Regions from separate parts of the Homo sapiens genome. Here region 2 is linked to region 1. Evidence: promoter capture Hi-C in human tissues and cell types (Jung and others, 2019). All regions are on one chromosome and are shown on one strand. The core of a region is centred on a gene start or on the middle of the fragment in contact, and the rest is flanking DNA. Distances in the headings are between cores, read along the strand shown.

Region 1 (4,545 bases), core at 531-3,030:
CCCCCACTTAGCCTTATATCCTTTGAAAGCCTTCTCAATGCATTTACATGCATGCATATATAATTTTGGGGTGTTTCGACAAAAGTTGATAATGCTGTATGTTTTTTGCAGTTGGCTTTAAAAAATCTTGGATCTCTTTCAATGGCTAACCCTTTAGTTCAAAACATCTCATAGTAATAGATATACCATTAACCATTTCCCATTGATAGATGGTCATTTTGTTTCCATTTTTTTCACTATTACAAACAATGCTGTAGTATTATTGTACATACTTTTTTGTGCATATAAGGATTTCTCTACAATATTTATTAGTGAAACTGCTAAATTGAAGATTACGTCCAATTAATATTTTGATAAATTCTGTTAATTTCCCTTTTAAAAATGCCGTGCCAATTTACATTCCTGCCAACAGTGTATGAGATTAGACTGTTCCTCACGTCCTCGCCAGGGATAAATGTGGTAATTCTTTTTGAAATTTAAGATATCACTTTCCAAGGTGGAGCAGACAAATTAGAGGCAGGTTTGCTTTTTTTTTTTTTCTCATTAAACTTTTTTAATGGGTCTCAAAATTCTGTGACAAATTTTTGGATGTTTCCATTAAAAAGTACTGATTTAAAAAACTAATAACTTAAAACTGCCACACGCAAAAAAGAAAACCAGTGGTCCACAAAACATTCTCCTTTCCTTCTGAAGAAGAAAACCAGTGGTCCACAAAACATTCTCCTTTCCTTCTGAAGGTTTTACGATGCATTGTTTTCATTAACCAGTCTTTTACTACTGAACTTAAATGGCCAGTTGAAACAAACAGTTCTGAGACCGTTCTTCCACCACTGATTAAGAGTGGGGTGGCAGGTATTAGGGATGATATTCATCTAGCCTTCTGAGCTTTCTGGGCAGACTTGGTGACCTTGCCAGCTCCAGCAGCGGTGAAGACTGCTGCTGTTGTAATGAGGCAGGCTTGAGTTTCTGTCTCAGTTTTGCCACTTGCTATCTGTACTGTCAGGGTGTTGTGGTTAAGTTTACCTTTGGGGCGCAGAAAAAGCATATTTATGGTGAGAGTTCGGTAGCATTTATCATTATAATAGAACTGGGAGCTAATATAGGCCATTAGATAGTTCATTATGCTTCCGATTTTATCAGGAATTGGGTTGATCCCACGTATAGTCTATTTAACAGGATCAAATTTTCCAAAAAGATAATCGGAATACACGCCGAAAGTGTGGCAAAACATTTTAACAGGTGTCGTCCTGAAAAATCGGAGATAAAGAGTGTAAGGCACTAAATCAAGTTGGGTGTTTTCAGCGTTTAGACTCTGGAGAGTTGAAATCCACGGTGTCTATGACCAGATCATACATCATTCTCTGCAGGTACCTCGTCTGGGACTACCGGCTGGAGGTTGCCTCTTTTCTGCCAGGAGACTACAGTTAGGAAGTGACTCCTGTAAGAAAATCCGTCACGATTCAATATGGTCCTCGTCCTCGTAGGACACTCCAGGCACCTGCCTAGAGTAAGATGGCGCTTTTCGTAAGCACCTCTCCAGGACAGAGATTTCCATAACGAGAGTCACGCACTTGCAGGCCATCTTTGCCATTATCCAAGACGGTGAGCCGTGCAGCCTCATCGTTTCCAGGTTTCAATATGGCTCCCCGCGTCACCGAAAAGGTTAATCTCAGAAACTAACTTGAACTCGCGCGGAAGTGACGCAACAGAAGTTGTCGCGCTTTGCATCTCCGCCTCCCGTGCTCCGCCTCCGGTCTTACGTTTCGCCCCCGGCAGCGCCGACAGCGGACCCAAGATGGCGACCGAGTTGGAGTACGAGTCTGTGCTGTGTGTGAAGCCAGACGTCAGCGTCTACCGGATTCCGCCCCGGGCCTCCAACCGCGGTTACAGGTACTAACCCCGAGGCGCTGCCGCACACGCGTACTCTGTCGCAGATGACAGCTTCCTTCTCAGCTAGCACGCTGTCCGTCCCTGCCACTACTACCTCTGTATTGTCACCTTGCTAGCCTCCCTACCTGGGTTGTCATCTCCCTGACCACCTGCTCCATCTCCACTCTGGACTGTCATCACCATATTTCTGCCGTTTTTTTTTTTGTTTTGTTTTTTATTAAATTACCACTCTGCGTTATTCCACTCTGCCTCTCCCGTAATCCCCTGGGGCACCCATCTGCTCCCCATCATGCACTTTCAGTCGTGCTTGCTCCATTGCCAGTCCCCTTTCATTCGCTCTTCCCTGCGTCCTTCAGCTTATCATCCTCATCCTTTCTCTCTCTCTCTCTCTCACACACACACACACACACACACACACACACACACACACACACCTTTCCAGTTCCCCATGCACATTTATGGGTAATCGTGTTGCTTGCCACTCTGGATTATCTGATTTATTTTTTGTACTGTTGTCAATTTCGTCACCAACTGTCATCATCCACCATTCGGTTTTTCCTTCAGCAGTTTTACCAGTGAGCAAAGGTTATGATCATAAGCTTTACAACGGTTGTTCATTCTGTTTCTTCTCATTGTATTTTCTTGATGATTATATAGTATTTTCTGTCTTCCTTCCCTACCTCCCTTCTTAACCTCTCCTACACCTTTTCCCTCCAAAGTTGAGGCAGCATTTTTCTCTGTTGGGCCTAACTACCTACCTTGTAATCCAATGACTGTGAGGTTCTGAGGATGCTATAGGACATTATGTAGTTGAAAGACAGTTCACTGGGCTTCATGTTAAACCATATGAGTGTGAGCCCTTTCCAAGCCTCAATTTTCTCATCTGTAAAATAGAAAAAAAAACCTGTTAGTGATGATACCTGCGCTCTTATAATGTGCTTAACAAGGGTTTTTGGGAGAGTAAAATTAAATCATATAATGGATGTGAAAGAATGTAGGAAATGCAATAAAGCAGTTACAAATACTATTTGTTTGTTCTTTTTTTTTTTTTTTTTTTTTTTTTTGAGATGTAGTCTCACTTTGTTGCCCAGGCCGGAGCGCAATGGCTCAATCTCAGCTCACTGCAACCTCCGCCTCCTGGGTTCAAGCGATTCTCCTGCTTCAGCTTCCTGAATAGTTGGGATTACACGCATGCACCACCACACCTGGCTAATTTTTGTATTTTGAGTAGAGATGGGGTTTCACCAAGTTGGCCAGGCTGGTCTTGAACTCCTGACCTTGTGATCTGCCCACCTTGGCCTCCCATAGTACTGGGATTACAGGCGTGACACCACGCCCAGCCGTCGTTTTTTTTTTTTTTTTTTTTTGTTAGAGAGGCAGGGTCTCGTTCTATCATCCAGGCTGGAGTGCAAGTGGTGCAATCACAGCTCACGGCAGCTGTGTACTCCTGGGCACAAGGGATCCTCCTACCTCAGCCTCCCAAGTTGCTAGGGCTACAGGCATTGCCTCACAATGCCTGGCTAATTTTTAAATTTTTTTGTGTAGACAGGATCTTGATATATTTCCCAGGCTGGTCTCGAACTCCTGGCCTTAAGTGATTCTCCTGCCACAGCCTCCCAAAGTGTTGAAATTACAGGTGTGGGCCACTGCACCTGGCCAAGATACTGTTCTTATTCTTCTCTCTGACCCACATCATCATTGTGATTTTTCCTCCTGGCATTTATCATTACCTTGGCTGAAAAGTTACCCTCTCCTTATGTCTGTTATTTTGCCCCTTACTGGCGTTTTATTCATCATGAATCAATATTTTTATGCTTGCTGACCTGTGCGCTGGGCCCTGTGGGTTGCACCTTTGGCAAAGAGGTAGCAGTTCTGTTTTTAATAAGCTTTTAGTTGGACCCCAAACTGACCCTAAGTAGAAATCAACATGCTTTTAGATGGTAGTTACAGGTACTATATGAGTCACTTAAACATCACCTTCTTTGGGAGGCCCTATGTGACCCTTCCATTCTGGTTTAGATATGCACCCTGTGTGCTTCCATAGCACCTTTTTCTTTTTCTTTTTTACTTTAAGTTCTGGGATACATGTGCAGAATGTGCAGGTTTGTTACATAGGTATGCATGTGCCATGGTGGTTTGCTGCACCTATCAACCTGTCATCCTCGCCCCTCCCCCGAGAGGCCCCAGTGTGTGTTGTTCCCCTCCCTGTGCCCATGCGTTCTCACTGTTCAACTCCCACTTGTGAGTGAGAACATGTGGTGTTTGGTTTTCTGTTCCTGCATAGCACTTTATTCTTATCTCTATTCCAGGGCTCTTCATTTTGTATTGTAATGGATTACAGTGGATTGTACAATGGATTGTTTAGTCTCCTTTTTTCTCCAGGCTAGACTGTGAACAACTTGAGATCTTTTTAACTTTATATTCCCAGGGTCTAGCACAGTATCTGGTACACTTTGGGCACCCTGTAAATGTTGACTGAAAGAAGAAATCAGTAGATTACACAGAGAAACCTAATCACATAAAGTGGCATTGATTGAACTGTTAAATAAGGTCAAATAGCTCATTACTTCCAACTTTAGGAGTTAAGACTCCTAAAGGATATGATACATATTGAAGTGGGATTATATTCTTTTTCTTGAAGTTTTTTTTTTTTTG
Region 2 (4,515 bases), core at 760-3,259, 440 kb before region 1:
ACTTTGCAAGCAGTGTAAGATCAACCCAGCTCTTTTAGGAATCATATCAGGCACGCTCACTGAAAATAATTCCCCAAAATTAGAAAAGCAACTTCCAGAGGAGCCATCTGAAGATCCCCCTTCTTTGGGGGCCCCTTCAAGTTCCCTTCTCGTTACAGCCCCTTAGGCCTGTAATAAAGGGAGACTTAGCCAATTTTCTCACAACCCTGATAGGTATATAAAAGCTTTCCAGGCTGGGCGCAGTGGCTCACGCCTGTAATCCCAACACTTTGGGAGGCTGAGGCGGGCAGATCACGAGGTCAAGAGATTGAGACCATCCTGGTCAACATGGTGAAACCCCGTCTCTACTAAAAATACAAAAATTAGTTGGGCGTTGTGGCATGTGCCTGTAATCTCAGCTACTTGGGAGGCTGAGGCAGGAGAATCGCTTGCACCCAGGATGTGGAGGTTGCAGTGAGCCAAGATCACGGCACTGAACTCCAGCCTAGCAATAGAGTGAGACTCCGTCTCAAAAAAAAAGCTTTCCAAAATTTAACTCAGGTATTTCACCTCAGATGGAAGGATGTTATGTTGCTCCTAAGTCAGACCCTCACTGCAGCTGAAAAGCAGGCAGCTCTGATTTCAGAGATTAGCAACATATCTCCTATAATACACCAAAAGGGAAGAAAGCAGATAAGGAAAGAGAAGAAATAGCAGAAATGCCATTCCCAATTGGGAGGAAAGCAGTTTCCCTTGACAACCCTAATTGGGACCCCAATAACTCAGGAGATGAAAAGGAAGCTCTTTTTTAAGTGTGCATTAGAGGGCCTACGGAAAACCAGGGCCAAACCTCTCAATTACTCTAAACTGTCCATGATAAACAGCCAGATGAGAATCTTGTAGCCTTTATGGAAAGGCTGAGAGAGGCACTAACAGAACACCCCTCCTTATCCCCTGATTCAGTCGAGGGACAGCTCATCCTAAAGGACAAGTTTATTAGACAGGCAGCTGCCAATATTAAAAGGAAACTACACAAGCAAGCTATAGGACCAGATAGCACCTTAGAGAACTTCCTGAAAGTGGCCACTTTGGTCTTTTGTAATAGGAACCAGGAGGAGGCCCAAAAGAAAGAGACAATGGTCAGAAGGACAGAGACTCTAGCAGCAGCTTTGCAGGCTTGCAAAGTCCAGGATCCCGGAGGTGCATCTGCTAGTTGCTATCAGTGTGGCAGGCCAGAGCATGTTAAGAAAGAATGCCCATACAGCAAGACAAAGCCACCTCAACCCTCTCCAGCCTGTGGCAGAGACAACAGGAGATGGAACTGCCCCCAGAGGTGGAGGTCACTGGGTTCAGAACCAGTCTTACTGATGATCCAGCAGAACTGGATCCCGGGGCTCAAACTCCAGCTCCAGCGGCTCAAACTGCCATTACAGCACAGGAGCTCTGAGTGATTCTGGAAATTAAAAGAAGGAAAGTAGACCTCTTTCTAAACACTCAGCCAGTCTCTCTTTTTTCTCCTCTCTAATCCAGGCCTCCCCTCTTCCCATAGCACAACCAGAAGGGGCATCTCAGGAAAAACTCTACTCCAGTATTTTTCTCAACCTTAGTTGACACGTGCTTCCAAGCCATTATCATGACAGCTCGCTAATCAGAAAAGCCTCCAAGTTAACCCTAGGAAATAATTTAACTGTTTACACCCCACATAATGTGGCAGGATTACTGTCCTCTAGGGGGAGCTCTTAGCCAACAAACCGCCAGTAAAGCAAGAAGTACATAAGGCAGGATAAGCAGTAGTCACTCTAAATAACGTCTCTCCCCAGGCACAAGCGCTCAATTAGCTGAGCTAACAGCTTTTACAAGCACACTTGGATTAAGCAAGGGAAAGGTAGCTAACATTTATACTAACTCCAAGTATGCTTTCTTGGTTCTCCATGCTCATGCTGCCATTTGAAAGAAAAGACATTTTCGGCCAGGCGGTGGCTCACGCCTGTAATCCCAACACTTTGGGAGGCCAGACGGGCGGATCACGAGGTCAGGGGATCAAGACCATCCTGGCTAACATGGTGAAACCCCGTCTCTACTAAAAATACAAAAAATTAGCCAGGCGTGGTGGCAGGCGCCTGTAGTCCCACCTACCTGGGAGGCTGAGACACGAGAATGGCGTGAACCTGGGAGGTGGAGGTTGCAGTGAGCCGAGATCGCGCCACTGCAGTCCAGCCTGGGCGACGGAGCGAGACTTCGTCTCAAAAAGAAAGAAAGAAAGAAAAGACATTTTCTTACCATTAATAGATCCCCTATAAAAATATCACCAGGAAATTAGCAGGTTATCTTCAGTTTTTCTTCCACAAGAAATAGCAGGAATGCATTGTAAGGAACATCAAAAGGGAACAAATGAGGTAGCCAAAGGAAATAGGTTAGCTGATCAGGCAGTTAAGTCAGAGGCAAGGAAGCCTCAAGCCGTTAAGGCACTTAAGCCCCTTCTAATCTAGGAAGGCTCCATAAGAAAAATTAAACCTCAGTATTTCCCTGCAGAAATAAAATAGGCCACTTCTCGAGGACGTAGTTCCCAGCCCTCAGAAAGGCTACAGTCAGAGGATGGCAAACTCCATTTGCCAGCCTCCAGCCAATGTCCTTAAAATCCTTCACCAAGCTTTTCACTTGGGAAAGGATAAAACTTATCAGTGTGCTCAGAGATTGTTTTCAGGCAGGAAACCTCTAAATTGGTTAAGCATGTAACCTCTCTAGCTCACTTCCAACAAGAATTAACGCAACTAACAGAAGTCCAACCCCAGGAAACAGAACCACCTTTATTTAACCCAGGAAATTTGGTGTTAGTGAAAACCCTCATCTCTGTCTCCTTCCCTAAGCCAAGCTGGGAAAGGCCCTACACTGTTCTTCTTTCAACACCATTGGCAGTAAAAGTTACAGGAATCAACTCCTGACTTCCACATTCAAGTCAAAGCCTGAACAGCTGAGGGATCAACCTCTGACAGCCCAGAGGCACGTCCTGAATATCAATGTGGAGAAATAGAAGATCTTAAACTGAAAATCATAAAAGATAAGTAACTGAGTGAGGGCTACTCCTACCTCATCGGGTACTTTTTATTATTTCTGCCTTTCCTCTCAAAATCTGCCACCAAATATTAAAATTCCTTTTAAGGCATATTTGCAGCGAGATTTAATTATACATGGGATTGCATTTGTAACTTTGTAGATCCCCAAAGGGAAATGTTATATCTAGGCAAGTAAAGACTTAAACGAAAATTATTTACTATGCCACTCTTGTGGGAAATGTTATAGTTACACCACTATTTGCGATGGAACTATACACCGTGGCACCCACAATGCGGAATTTTGGTTGTAAAATTCTAATTGTTATAATATTTTGCCTGATTATCTTCCTTATCTTAGGATTAATAATTGCAGGAAAGATTTAGTCAAGGTTATTTTGCTTATAGCAGGAGTGATAGTTATGGATAAGAAGCAAGCATAAGGCCGGGCGCGATGGCTCATGCCTGTAATCTCAGCACTTTGGGAGGCCGAGGCAGGTGGATCACCTGAGGTCGGGAGTTCGAGACCAGCCTGACCAACATGAAGAAACCCCATCTCTACTAAAAAATACAAAATTAGACAGGTGTGGTGGCGCATGCCTGTAATCCCAGCTACTCGGGAGGCTGAGGCAGGAGAATTGCTTGAACCTGGGAGGAGGAGGTTGTGGTGAGCTGAGATCGTGCCATTGCGCTCCAGCTTGGACAACAAGAGCGAAACTCCATATCAAAAAAAGAAAAAAAGCAAGCATGAAAGTATAAAAGTTTTACTATCATTAAGTTTGATATGACTTTTTACTGAAAGTTGGTAATAGGATGCATTCTAAACTATTAAAAGAAGTTTATAAAGAAAGATTTTATATAAGGAAGGATTGTGTATGGTAAATTCTTGTCCTAAAAGGAAATGACTGGTTGTTTACAGGAAGGATGTTTAGGACAAGTCAGAGAGTTTGAGTATGTTGTAAGAGGGTCTGTGAAAGTCACAAAAGAATTTACTAATTAAAGGAAAGGAATTGCCAAGATTAATGCTAAAGTTATTTTAGCCACCCAATATCATATTTCTCCCAATCATATTGCAACTCACAAAAATGGCCTATGCCAAAAATTATTCTCTAATGGGAAGTCAAGGGGAAAATGTATGCTTTTCTCAAGGAAAATGTATGCTTTTCTCAAGGAAAATGTTACTTTTATATAAAGTCTCTGGTAATGTACAACGGCATCTAGTGGACGAAAACCGGTATTGCAACCCTTTGGTGTAACTAACAGATTTCAAACTCAGTTATGGTCTACAGAATTCCCTCTAATGGTGGTCATCTTAATACTCATACTCTAACCCTATATTTTAAATCTTCTTGTAAAATTTATCTCTTTTCACCTAGAAGCAATCAAACTCCAAACAACGCTGCGAGCAGAGCCACCCATGGACACACCATTCTTCCTAGAACACTTAGATCAACCTCAGGAGGAGGACCAACTGCTGTCCCTCACG

Evidence for each region. The method cuts DNA at HindIII sites, captures the fragments that hold promoters and counts their contacts. A contact is called where the count stands out against the background at its distance.
Region 2: a contact is called between a fragment that was not itself captured here and the fragment with the promoter of NECAP1 in region 1, in 4 of the 25 tissues and cell types used here (H1 embryonic stem cells, hippocampus, mesendoderm cells and 1 more).

What each region holds. Positions count from the first base shown.
Region 1 is chr12:8,080,494-8,085,038 of GRCh38, forward strand. NECAP1 (NECAP endocytosis associated 1) reads left to right here and starts at 1,781. Exons shown (of 8, transcript NM_015509.4): 1 at 1,781-1,890. The coding sequence starts at 1,796. RefSeq lists enhancers at 1,043-2,242, 1,674-1,893, 1,964-2,023. The HindIII fragment of the contact is 7,640 bases long and covers 1-3,132 here.
Region 2 is chr12:7,641,336-7,645,850 of GRCh38, forward strand. No RefSeq gene overlaps it. Among named protein-coding and RNA genes, the nearest start is that of APOBEC1, 22 kb to the right of the region's middle. The HindIII fragment of the contact is 4,378 bases long and covers 1-4,198 here.